Linked DNA regions of Homo sapiens: regions 2, 3 and 4 are each linked to region 1. Evidence: promoter capture Hi-C in 16 types of primary human blood cells and fetal thymus (Javierre and others, 2016). All regions are on one chromosome and are shown on one strand. Each heading gives the region's core, a stretch centred on a gene start or on the middle of the fragment in contact. The rest is flanking DNA. Distances are from core to core; before and after follow the strand shown. Region 1 holds the start of RAD1 (RAD1 checkpoint DNA exonuclease). Region 2 overlaps SPEF2 (sperm flagellar 2). Region 3 overlaps SPEF2 (sperm flagellar 2). Region 4 has its middle 20 kb from the start of IL7R.

Region 1 (3,099 bases), core at 579-3,078:
ATCACATCCTTACTTCCCAGAGTTTTCTAAACAAAGTTCAAATGACATAGCTTTGACACTGAATTTTAAAATAGATTTTCACGTCTACATCATTATTGCCCCAAATGAAGCCTAATGCAATCCAATCTGGCTCTATTTTTTACATTTTTCAGCATTTCCCTACTTCAAAGTCTTTCATCGGTTTTTTTTTCTCCCTTGGAGTGTTCCCTCTCATTTTTTGAATGTCAAAATTCTACACTTCCTCTGATATGCAGCTTACGGGCTAAATCCTTCATGATTCTTTATCTTATTATACTAGGGTAAAAATAATCTATATCTCCTGCACTTCCATAGAATGTATCGAAGTATGGCTCAGATTATAGATACTACCTAGCTCAAGGGAAGAGTGAGAACACTAACATTTACTGGAAGTGTACAAGTCCAGCTTATTTTTCATAAAAAGTAAATATTCCCTCCCCCTGCCCCCCAATCTGCAGGTCAGAAAAGAGCACAGAATGTTGCTGTTAATAACGGGGCTAGAATTTACACTTATCTTTCATTCCACAGAGCTCACTTCTTTCTTAGAGCTTGCCATCACACCACACGGGGTCATTTACTTATCACCTACTCCGCGCTAGAGTACTATGCTAAGTGCGGAGGACGCAAAAATTAATGTCAAAGATAATCCTTGTTCACAGTATTCTGTCTAGCTTAAGAAGAGTTCTTAGTTGAATGAAAGCTAATTCTAACAACTTGTGTGCACTTCTTTTGAATAAAAACCATCAACTTATTTGAATTCTTAAGTTTCCTCCTAAACTCCAACATTTCAGGAGGAAGAGGTCACATTCTAGTCATCTTTGCAATCTCAAACCCAAAGGAAGCCTAACTTGGTACAGTGCATGGCACATTCAATGTCTGTTGAATACAAGTAAAGCTCATACTACCTAGTCTATTTTTCAGTATCTCTTGAGTTAATGACCTGGTTAACAAGTCAGAGTCACAGTCCCAAGGGCAACAACTTTTTAAAGGCTCCCCTAACGTACTTCAGGATCCCTGACTGAGAGTGGCTGACTATGGCAGTATATGGGCATACTAATCACTGGAGAAATAATAGCGAGAAATAACCAAGGAAAAGCACTACTCTCCAAAAACATTAAAAAAAAAAAACAACTGAACAACTAGTAAGAAAGAACGCTGGATCTGAGCACCCTGTAAGTCGCTTCCCCGTGGGCCGGGTAAAGGTTTTAAAACCCGCCGCCTCCAGGAAGACGGCCACGTGCACAAGGATTAGCTGCAAACTCCGTGCCCAGTCTGGCCGGGAGAATTGCTAAAACCGACCTACCGTTAACACCCGGGCTACTCTGAAATTAAGCAAGGCTGTAGTCAAGTAAGTAACCCAAGAAAAGGCGCACAGAGCCGCCGCCGCAGGTGTAGCCCGGGGACATCCCCTCCTACCTTGCAAACGGGGCCTGGGATCCGGTCCCTCTCTTCTTCCTCCACCTCCTCTGCTGTGGCGTGCCGCTTAGCTGGCGGCTCCGCATCTATTTCGTTTCTTTTTGGCTTCTTCGCCTGAACTGCAAAGCCTCCACGCCGTTTCCTCTTGGTTGCCGCCATCTTGCCTCGCCGCCCGCGCTCTTGGCCTCCTTTCCGGCGCTGCCGCTCGCTCCTATTTCCGATCTCTATGGTTCGGCGGCTCTAAGCGCTCAGCTCCGCGGTCGTCCTCCAGGTCTGTGCCGCCTCCTTCCGGTCTCGGTGGCGCGGCACGCGCGGCTCTCTAGGCCTCCTTCAGCTCTGTGGTGACGGTGGCCGAGGTGGAGGGCCGGTCTGAAGAGTGGCGGGACTGGCTTCACTTCCTCCGCGGTTCCTCGGAGCCGCCTCGCTCCTCTTCAGGGACTTTGCTGAGAAGGGCTCTCGGGCGTCCAGACCCCACCGCAAAGGTAGGGTTTCCGCACTCGGGGACCCCGAGACTAGTAAGCGATGCTGTCCCGCGGGCGGGCTGGTGAATGGGGTTGTCTGGGACTCTTGGAGGATTATCTGGACACTCCGGGCCCGCCCCGCCATCGCCTGTTTTGTTGGAGGCGGGGCTGGTGGCGCGGGCTGCACAAAACCGACTCCCCGCGGATTTGTAGCTCCTGTTTGGCCGGGAGATACCGTGTCAGTTGCGTGTCTTCATTCTTCACAACTTTTCACGTTATTGTCCTCTTACGGAGACGAGGAAACCGTAGCTTAGATAATTTTCCTCCAGAATTACAAAGATAGTTAAGTGACATAGGTGGGGTTCGGCCTGGTCAGCCGTGTTCAGCCTCCCAGCCCCTTTCCACCTCTCAGCGCAGGTGGAGCTCGCCGGACCTCGCCAGCACTGATGGGAGTTTTACTGTCTAATCCCTTCAGGTGTTTGGCGATCCGCCGAGAAGTTGTTGGCCCCAGGAGCATCCCTCGGGGCCGAATGCGCAGTGGACGATGCCCCTTCTGACCCAACAGATCCAAGACGAGGATGATCAGTACAGCCTTGTGGCCAGCCTTGACAACGTTAGGAATCTCTCCACTATCTTGAAAGCTATTCATTTCCGAGAACATGCCACGTGTTTCGCAACTAAAAATGGTATCAAAGTAACAGTGGAAAATGCAAAGTGTGTGCAAGCAAATGCTTTTATTCAGGTATGGAAGTAGGCGCCTTTAAGCCTGTGCCATAGATACTCTAAATGTAATTTAATGAAATCGGAAGGTTTCAGTAGACAAAATAACTTAATAGTCATAATAACTTGTCAATAGTCATAATAAATAACTTAATAAATAAATAATAGTCTTAAGTTAGAGAACAAAACGTCATTACTTGAATTTTTTTTCTCTCCCGGTAACAAATTCTTTTCCCATCTTGTTTTACAGAGATAATGGTTAGTAATGACTAAAGTTTATTAAACTAGGCTATTGGCTAGGCTACAGTCTTCTTATTGTTTAACTTATTTAATCTTAACAATAGTCCTGTAAGGTAGGTTCTGTTATTATTCCCGTTTTATATATGTGGAAACGAGGCACAATTTTAAGTGATTTGCCAACAGTCCCACAGCTGGTAAGTGGCTGAATTGGGATAAGAACGCTGAATATTTGTTTCCAGAATAT
Region 2 (3,231 bases), core at 234-2,733, 710 kb before region 1:
AGATAACCATATCTATATCTTATATCAGAGAGCTATTTAATATTAATAGCTCTCTTTTGCAGCAGTGTTTGAGAATTGCTGGGTGCCATGCCTGCCACATAGTAGGCACATAATGATAAGTGCAGAATTTTATTTTATTTTTTGATGGAGTCTCACTGTGTCGCCTAGGCTGTGGCCTAATCTACAACCTCTGAGTGCAGTGGCCTGATCTACAACCTCTGACTCCTGGGTTCAAGCGATTCTCCTGCCTCAGCCTCCCGAGTAGCTGGGATTACAGGTGTGTGCCACCACACCCAGCAAATTTTTGTATTTTTAGTAGAGAGGGGGGTTTCACCATGTTGCCCAGGTTGGTCTCGATCTTTTGACTTCATGATCCACCTGACTCGGCCTCCCAAAGTGCTGGGATTACAGGCATGAGCCACCGTGCCCAGCCGAGAAAAAAAATTTTTAAGTGTTCAATAGGATTTGCTTTTTTAAAAAATGTTCTTAGTTTTGAGTTACTTGTATTTTTCTTATAAAGTAAAATATATAGACTTACATGATATTTAAGGATTATATACAAAATAAATTATATTATCATAGGCCAAAGCTATCATCTCTCAAATTACTTCAAAATCCTCCACAGATATTCAACCTGCTTCCATCAGGTTAACATATAATATAACATATTATATTAAATATAATATTTTAACATCGGTTAAAATATTATATGTCATTGCAGTATCACAAATTCAGTTTTGCCAGATTGTTCTATTTTACCTGTCTGACTAATAATGAGGTGGCTAATTGACAGTGAAGAAATAACATTTCTTCATGATTTGTAGAAGCGATGCTTGGTTGTGTGGTTGTAGGAAGTTGAGCTAAGTTGCTCCATAACAGCCACTGTGCAGTCCTCACTCCAAAGATTACACCCTATCATAATACTTTTTGCATGTCTGATACCAGAACACAGTTTTCTCTAAGACTTTCTTAATATCTGTTCTCAAAACCCTTTATACTCAGAGTAATACCTCAATCCTTAAGTTGAGTCAATACAATAATAAAGGTAGTTAAAAAGATGTCAATGGTTCCCACTGATTCTATGTACTCAGGGTGAGCTCTTGAACTGTCTAGAATTAGAATCTATTAATTATGGTTACATAATTTTTATATGCAATAGAAAAAATAAAAGGTAAAAAACATTAAGGGGAAGCAATGCTTTTTTTGTCTATGGATCACTTTAGCAACAAGTAAAGAAATGAAACTTTTATAAGCCCTAGGAAAATGAAAGCTTCCAATCACATAACCTTGTGTTCAGCTATAGTTCATGTGAGAACAGACACATTGCATCTATTCTTAAAGTCCACAGTCTGGCACCTATTAGTGGATTTTAGTAAGCTTTTCCACAAACAGACCAGTTTTATCATCATTTTAAAACTATTCAGGGCAGAATGATCTCACTCTAAACCCATGATACATTCTTTCAGAGTTGATGGTTTGATGCCCTTCCTATCAGTCATATCTGTCCTTCCGAAGCTATGTCTTAATGTGAAACACTGAAGCAACTCTTGAGAAAATATACTTAGAGAAGAGTATGTCCTAAAGCTTCCAGCAGGAGAATTTGAAATTCATGGCATACCTGAGCTCTATAACTCAGCTAGATCTATTGTACCGCCTGGAACACCTTACAGCACAAGTTAAGCTTGAGCTTCATAACCTAGGCACTGATTTTTTCCGACTTTAACGCAACACCATTTGAATATCATAATGCCTTTCGATGCTACTAAAATGAAGATTGGCTTGATCTTATACTAAATGTCATCTGTCATTCAGCAAGTGTCTTCCGGCTTCATACCTCAGTAGTCTTTAAAGCAACTGAAATCCAAAGGGTTCCTTCTGCTCCAATGGGCAAAAGTGTGCCACCTCCTCCTGTGTCACTGCAGCTTTCTCCTTCCCTTACAGACCCCAAAGCTCTCGTTGCCACCATGACCCTCAATGTGCCACCCAGGGTGCTCTAGCTGTGTCTTTCACCTCTTCTGTCTGTTGCTTTCTTCTGTCTGCCTCTTCCCTTCTCTCCTCCCTAGCCTATCCCTATTCTTCCCTTAGTTTTCTAAAGAGCCACTGGACATAGAACCATTATTCATCTATGGATGTATCTGTGTCTTTCTATTCCTACGCCATCAGGGTCTTGTCCCAATTTTTGGCTTATTGCTTTCTGTTCAAGAGCTGTTGCTATGTTACCTTCAGGTAATCTCTTTCCCTTCCTGCCTCCCTCTGGGGTTTGCACTGTGCCTGTTGTTCACGTTGACTGAATGCTGAAAGTCTAGCCCAGGAATAACTGGGGAATACTAAATCCGTTTCCTTCATCTTCAGTGTGGCTGACAAACGGTCTGTAACAAACCATTTTCTACAAAAAGGTCACCAGAAAAATAAAATCATTACCCATTTCCTTTGAAATGGCATGGCATATTAATAAGGCAATTATGATATGGATAAAATAGAGGTGTTTATAGTATAAAGGTTAAAGAACAATAGTAAACACTTAATGTACTTCATTGTCAGAGTAGTTTATAAAAAATCTGTAAGTATCAAAATATCTGTCTGAAGCTTTTTATGCATAAGACACTTCAGATTTACCATGTACCACATCAGCAGAAACTAGAACAGTGAGTGACGAATACAGCAAATGATAAAAGCAATAAAGGGGAAACTTGGAGAAAAAAATTAAAAGAAAAAGAAAAAAGAATACATATAGGAAATTAGACAAAGAAAGAAAAAGCTGAAGAAAAAGTGTATACACTAGGACTGATACACTAAAACGTATAAAATAAGAAGACAGGGCTGGATGCCGTGGCTCACGCCTGTAATCTCAGCACTTTGGGAGGCTGAGGCAGGCAGATCACGAGGTCAGGAGTTCGAGACCAGCCTAGCCAATATGATGAAACCCTGTCTCTACTAAAAATACAAAAAGTAGCCGGGCATGGTGGCACATGCCTGTAGCCCCAGCTACTCGGGATGCTGAGGCAGGGGAATTGCTTGAACCCAGGAGGCGGAGGTTGCAGTGAGTTGAGATTGCGCCACTGCACTCCAGCCTGGTGACAGAGCAAGACTCCGTCTCAAAAAATAAAAGAAGACATATAGGAAGCCAGAGAGAGAGAGAGATTGAGAGAGGACAAAGGTGATAGGGAGAGAGAGAAACAGTGAGGAAAAAAGAAAAGGCAAGAAAAAGCTTATTTTTTTCTCTTTGGTTTG
Region 3 (2,929 bases), core at 203-2,702, 870 kb before region 1:
TAATTTGATTATCATGTATAAGGTCATTATTTTTTCTGGTATATTTGTGTTAATAATAATCAATAAATAATATTTTATGTCTAATCATTACCTTTACCAAAAGAGAGGTAGAATCATCATAAGTGGCAGAATTTGACCAGAAAAGGAGTGTTGAATATGTTACAATATATGATGCTTTTCAATTTTATGTTATCTTTAGTAAGGGCTATTTTAATGGAGACTTTTGTTTTCAAAGGGATTAACCAATACTTAGCAGAAAACCCCTTAAGCTTTAGTTCTTTCCATTTACATCTTGATACTATCTAGTTGCAAGTATTTAAAGCATTCAGTCATTGTTCTAATCAAAGATTAAATAATAATCCAATACTTGTATTTGTGTGGCATGATTAAAACATGCAAAGTGTAATTTAGTAACATCAGTGCTTTTTATAAATCTGCTAAAAAATCCTACCATGGGCCTAGTAACATAATGGCTGTTATATGCAAATAAATATGTATGCTTCCCTCCCAAAAAAATCCATCTGTTTTAATATATTTTAGTGAACTTGAAAGTTGCATCTTAGATATTATGGATTGCATGGGCATATATGAAATAATATAGGAAAATGTTTTTATTTCTTGGCATAGAAATAATAGCAAGTTTGAGCAGGAAGTTCTGCAGGATCACACATTTGAAACACACATGTTCAGCCAGCTCCTCCACACTTTCAAACCTGCTATCACTCACTAAGATTGTGTTTTGAAATTATAGAGTTCTAGGGTAAATACAGTGGAAGGTATCATAAAGGATTGTTTTCCATTTCTTGGAAGAAATACAACAAAAGCCTTCATTTAAAAGACGGATGGGTGTGTGTCATGTTTCTTAAGTGAACAATTGCCAAACCGGGGTAGAAAAACAAAAAAGCCAGAGTATACTTTGTGGGGCCAGAAGAGATGGGGAAAAGGGGTGAGTGGCAGTTAATGGGTTTCCTCAGGCAGGGCCATTGTCAATGTTTGGAGCCTGATTTCAAGAGTATCAGTAGAGAACCTCCAATTCTGTGACTCTGGGATGCAGAAAAATGGAGTAATACTTTTCCCTGCCCTCTATAAGAATAGCAAGAATAATAACAATGAACGTTACTCCTGTCAATCAAATTCCCAACACTTATTAATTATTTTAGATATACCTAAAAAGCAATATATGCAATATATATTTTTTCAAATGGTATAATTGAGCTAATAGAGAAAAGAGTTTAAACTGTTTGCCCATAGACCATACATAACTCACTTTGAATCATCACAATCCCCAAATCCTACCGTATTGTATAGCCTTGTAAATTCTGTGGTAATTACAACTGTTATTCTTGCATATGGGTTAATTCTCCAGCTTGGGTGGGAGGAGGTGGTTCCTCACACAGAGAAAGCCTCCTCTTCTACTCGCCTGGAGTTCATGCAGTTGGAGAAAGAAAAGCAGAGCAGTCTCCTAAACATTTCCCAAACATCATGCTCCTATCCTCACGCTTCTTGTCTACAGAGTTTCCAGCAGCTGTTCCCCTAACTGTAAACATTCTCTGTAGCCTTGCCACAAAATCTCTTTACCCTCTTCAATTTCTCCCTCCAAAGTTTTGCTCCACAGACTTTTCCCTGACCAATTTCAGGGCACACTGATGCTTTGCATTCTTGAGCACTTGAATAACATTCATACTGTGTCCCAGAAAGAACTCAAATAGTTGTTCATATTTCCTTCCTCTTTGCTTGCCTTTTCAAATTAAACTCTCAGCTCCTAGGGCAAATGGTTTCCTTTTACTCTGCTTTTAAAAAAATAAAAATTAAAAAAAAAACAACTCCGTTTCTCCCTCCCTCCCTTCCTTTACTTCCTCTCCCTCCCTTCTTATTTCTCCCATAGTCTGAAAACATTTATCTGTTGACATCTTTGTGTCCCAAGGGTTTCTAGAGTTAATCTTCTGAGACACATGTCAAGTTATAGCTGCTATTTTTTAAAATTTATTTTTAAATTTTTAGTGGAAATATGAGCTCTGGATTTGAGGTTGGATCCAAGAAAGTATTATGATTAGCATCATGGATACTAGGGTCCCTGCTGAAAGATATATTGTAAGTGGATGATAATTTTCAAAATCCACTTCTACCTATTCAAGTGTCCCCAGATGCCTTTAGTTTTTACCTATTAATTGAGTGATTTCCTCCCAGTCACCAGAGTGTAGGATTAAAGCAAACCACATGTCATGTTTAGAATCCACTTACACTTATCTTTTTATTTTATGTGTAAAATAATGGCCTGGATAAAATGAAGAGAAAAAGCAACTCTGAAGAGGGAAGTACATAATAACAGGGCATTGTGGAGCTCGCACCATGTAGAAGAGGGTGCACTCTGTCTGACTAAAGGACTGAAGGAATTTCATGGACTGATTTGTAAAGTCGAGATTTTTTGTACCTGCTGATGGCCATGTTTCCTTCGTGCCCAAATGCTGCCAAATGGCACCTCCGTCCCTCCACAGCTGAAGTGTGGGCTTTTATACCTTGGAGCTGTAAAGCCTGCTCTAGCTGATTTGATGAGCTGACACATCAAAGCGCAAGGTTCACCCAGGCACACACACATACACCAATTTCACCTATTGGGCTTGGCAAGGAAGCTTTCGGACTTAGAGTAATGCTCTTTTTACTAATGATATATGATGTGAATTTCTGGAAATACTGGACTTTTTTAAAAAGTAACATTGTATTAATACTAAAGTCAGTTGACTATGCTACAGGGAAAAGTAATAATTTCCCAATAAGTAGTATATGTTGAAAAGTAAAAGAAATCTGCTTATGAGAGGCAACTTAGTTCAGTGAGAAGGGGCAAGAACTTTGGATCTGCAGAGTTCTGAATGATATATGACCATAGGCAAAAAATCTGCTAAACTCCTCTGTGAGTCAGTATCTAGACCTT
Region 4 (2,927 bases), core at 127-2,626, 920 kb before region 1:
TTTCATAGAAGCTACAAGTGTTTTGGAAAGCATATTTGACCCACCAGACACTGCGGCATTCTCTTTGGGTGTGAGGGGTTGAACGAGATCATTGCGTGGTTGGATGAATGGGGGCTGGCTCTTCAAGGGTGTGGTTATAGGCAATGGGTCTACTTGTGTGGCTAAAAACCAAGTTTTAGTATTGATAGACAACTGGCATGCTTTGTTTTATTTAAGAAAAGAAATAGCTGATGTGCACATGTAGGGAAAATATGGGTATAGATGCCAAGAGCTTGAGTCACCAGAGAAGAAACATAGTGAGGGACTAAGGAGAGTGGGATGCTGCACAAGTTGGCAGTGACATATGCCATAGATCTTTGTGCGAACTGAGAGTCCTGGGCTATCTTACTGTGTGTATTGTACCACATAACAGCCTTGCTCCAAATTCTCAAAAAATCTGCAGTAAAAATCTATATTAGTGCTACATGTTAAGAGAGAGAACAGACAATAAGAACAACCATGTATAATAGAAACTATCTTATCTGACCTTCCCATAACTGACTCTTCAGACCTGCTGACCACCCAAGCCACACTGCTCTGACCAGTGGAGTTGTTTATTTACCAAAGACAAATTGTGTTTGTCTGCAAACTTGTTTACACCAGATGTAATTGTTATTATAATTATACAGGTAAGTTAAGTACTAGATCAACTGGTGAACTATCAATATAAAATAAAAATGATCATTTCTATAAGACATGTTAGAATTATTTGAAAAGTAAAGTTGAGGCCGGGCACAGTGGCTCACACCTGTCATCCCAGCACTTTGGGAGGCTGAGGAGTGTGGATCACCTGAGGTCAGGAGTTCAAGACCGGCCTGGTCAACATGGTGAAACCTCGTCTCTACTAAAAATACAAAAACTAGCTGGGCATGGTGGTGGGCACCTGTAATCTCAGACACTCTGGAGGCTGAGGCAGGAGAATAGTTTGAACCTGGGAGGCAGAGGTTTCAGTGAGCCGAGATCGTGCCACTGCACTCCAGCCTGAGGGACAAGAGTGAAACTCCATCTCAAAAAAAGGAAAGAAAAAAATTGTAACAGATTAAGTATGAGAGAATTTTTAATGATTAGTATAAAAACGTAAACATGTAAATGCACTGTTCACTCAGCTTCACAACAGGATATTACTCCACTTAAGAGAAAGTTAAACTATAAATTATTAGATGAGGCCTTATGAAATACAGGGAAAACAATATCAATCTCCAGTAAAAGGAACTATACTAAAAGAAAAACTATTTAGTCTTATACCAACATATTAGAAATGAATGCATATTAAGTAAAAATGTTCAGGTTATGATTTTTTAATGATTTTACTCTTTATCTTCTTATTTTCAGTATACTGATCAATTTCCACTTTGATAGGAGCGTTTCTGCAGCAGTAGTTTTTGTTGTTGCTTACTTTGTGCAGGTATTTATTGTTTTATGTATGCGTCACTACAACTCTTGTAAATTGTAGTACTATTCTCATTTTACAGGTGAAGTATCTAAAACTTAGGAAATTTAAATAACCAGCTCAGGCATACAGTTAGAATATACATAGCAAGAAATAAACAAATAAAACAATTTTTAAAAACCTTTATACTAGACAAAATTCTTAAATTGTAGTATTCAATTTTTTAAAAAAATTTACTGTACAACAGGGACTAGATTTCAAGGATATGCAAACATTTTAAATATCTATCTGCTCATGATACGAGGGGATGAAGCAATTAAAACAGATAACCACAATACAACATGGGAAAGGCTAATAACCATTAGAGAGCTATCAATCACATCAGAGATCATTTACAGGGTGGTAGGAAGAACCTGGCTGTGCAAGCCACTCCACTCAGTGCAAGCCACTCCACTCAGCCTCAGTTTTCTCATTTCAAAAATGCAGATAATAATACCTTTGTAAAGGGCAGTTATGAGCCTTAAAGCATTTAGCAGGAACCTGGCACGTAACAGGTATTCAGCAAACGGTGGCTATTATTGCTGGTTGATCCATGATATGTGCTTTCTTTGTTGTCCTCAGCATCAAAGGTTGATTTTCCTACTTTGCTCCCTTTATTTGATTTCATGCAAACCTGGGCTCTTCTAGTCAATCACCAAAGTCAGTCAATTCAAAATATTAACTATCAAACCAGTCTTTCTTTGGAGATCAGACACACAATGCACTGAACTCTTCCCCGGTCAGCCACCCGGTCTGGTGTTATGTGGATAGAGCACCTGCACTGTGTCCCAAATTAACACGGTCCTAGGAGGCTGCAAGAGTGGGTGGCCAGGGAAGAGGAGCAAGGCTGCTCACTCTCCAGACTCATTTCAAAAACGCATTTTATTGACAGATGGAGTATGTAAAGCAATCAGTCTTCACTGTGGTCTGAGTTACATTGATCTTTCTTTTTTATATTTTGTGAGTTTTTAATTGACTCTCATTTGGTCAAAAAAAAAAAAATAGATGTTTTTCACTGTCTGTTTCCCTGTACTTTGCTGTAGTGTTTTTCCCCCTCTTTGTGTTCACACCGATCTTGATTCACTGTTGCTCAGAACTTTTTCTCCTTTTTGGTAATCAAGATGATAACTCATTGCTATGTTTTGCATTCACAGATGAACTAGGATATGAGATCTAAGTGCATATTTTATGATATTTAAAGTTAAAATTATTCAGAAATTTTAAATTTCATCACTTGGCATACTTAAATTTTAAAAATTTAGTCAAGATAATAAAAAAGAATGTCGGAAGTGTCTGCTTAACGCTAACCACAGATTCCAAAGACTTCAACAACTTGAATAGTCTCATTTCTTCAAAAGTTTAGTCATAAAGCATCACTTTCAGTCTTTCTCTGATTAACACTGAAAAAAGAAACCATTGCCACCACTCCTTTCCCTCAACTTTCTAGGTAGATGTTTTG

Evidence for each region. Contacts are between HindIII fragments. The CHiCAGO score rates a contact against its expected background, and 5 or more counts as called.
Region 2: a contact is called between a fragment that was not itself captured here and the fragment with the promoter of RAD1 in region 1, in 1 of 17 cell types (total CD8 T cells). The highest score is 5.3, in total CD8 T cells.
Region 3: a contact is called between a fragment that was not itself captured here and the fragment with the promoter of RAD1 in region 1, in 1 of 17 cell types (activated CD4 T cells). The highest score is 5.2, in activated CD4 T cells.
Region 4: a contact is called between a fragment that was not itself captured here and the fragment with the promoter of RAD1 in region 1, in 1 of 17 cell types (activated CD4 T cells). The highest score is 5.4, in activated CD4 T cells.

What each region holds. Positions count from the first base shown.
Region 1 is chr5:34,914,233-34,917,331 of GRCh38, reverse strand. It overlaps RAD1 (RAD1 checkpoint DNA exonuclease), which reads left to right and starts at 1,828. Exons shown (of 6, transcript NM_002853.4): 1 at 1,828-1,916; 2 at 2,371-2,637. The coding sequence starts at 2,440. BRIX1 (biogenesis of ribosomes BRX1) reads right to left here and starts at 1,621. Exons shown (of 10, transcript NM_018321.4): 1 at 1,435-1,621. The coding sequence starts at 1,593. It also overlaps a transcript of TTC23L not described here. RefSeq lists enhancers at 1,033-1,638, 1,213-2,112, 2,133-2,192, 1,639-2,244. The HindIII fragment of the contact is 14,569 bases long and covers 1-3,099 here.
Region 2 is chr5:35,624,522-35,627,752 of GRCh38, reverse strand. All of the region lies in intron 1 of SPEF2 (sperm flagellar 2), which reads right to left. Among named protein-coding and RNA genes, the nearest start is that of SPEF2, 8.3 kb to the right of the region's middle. The HindIII fragment of the contact is 207 bases long and covers 1,380-1,586 here.
Region 3 is chr5:35,780,036-35,782,964 of GRCh38, reverse strand. All of the region lies in intron 30 of SPEF2 (sperm flagellar 2), which reads right to left. Among named protein-coding and RNA genes, the nearest start is that of IL7R, 75 kb to the left of the region's middle. The HindIII fragment of the contact is 2,361 bases long and covers 272-2,632 here.
Region 4 is chr5:35,835,926-35,838,852 of GRCh38, reverse strand. No RefSeq gene overlaps it. Among named protein-coding and RNA genes, the nearest start is that of IL7R, 20 kb to the left of the region's middle. The HindIII fragment of the contact is 5,067 bases long and covers 1-2,927 here.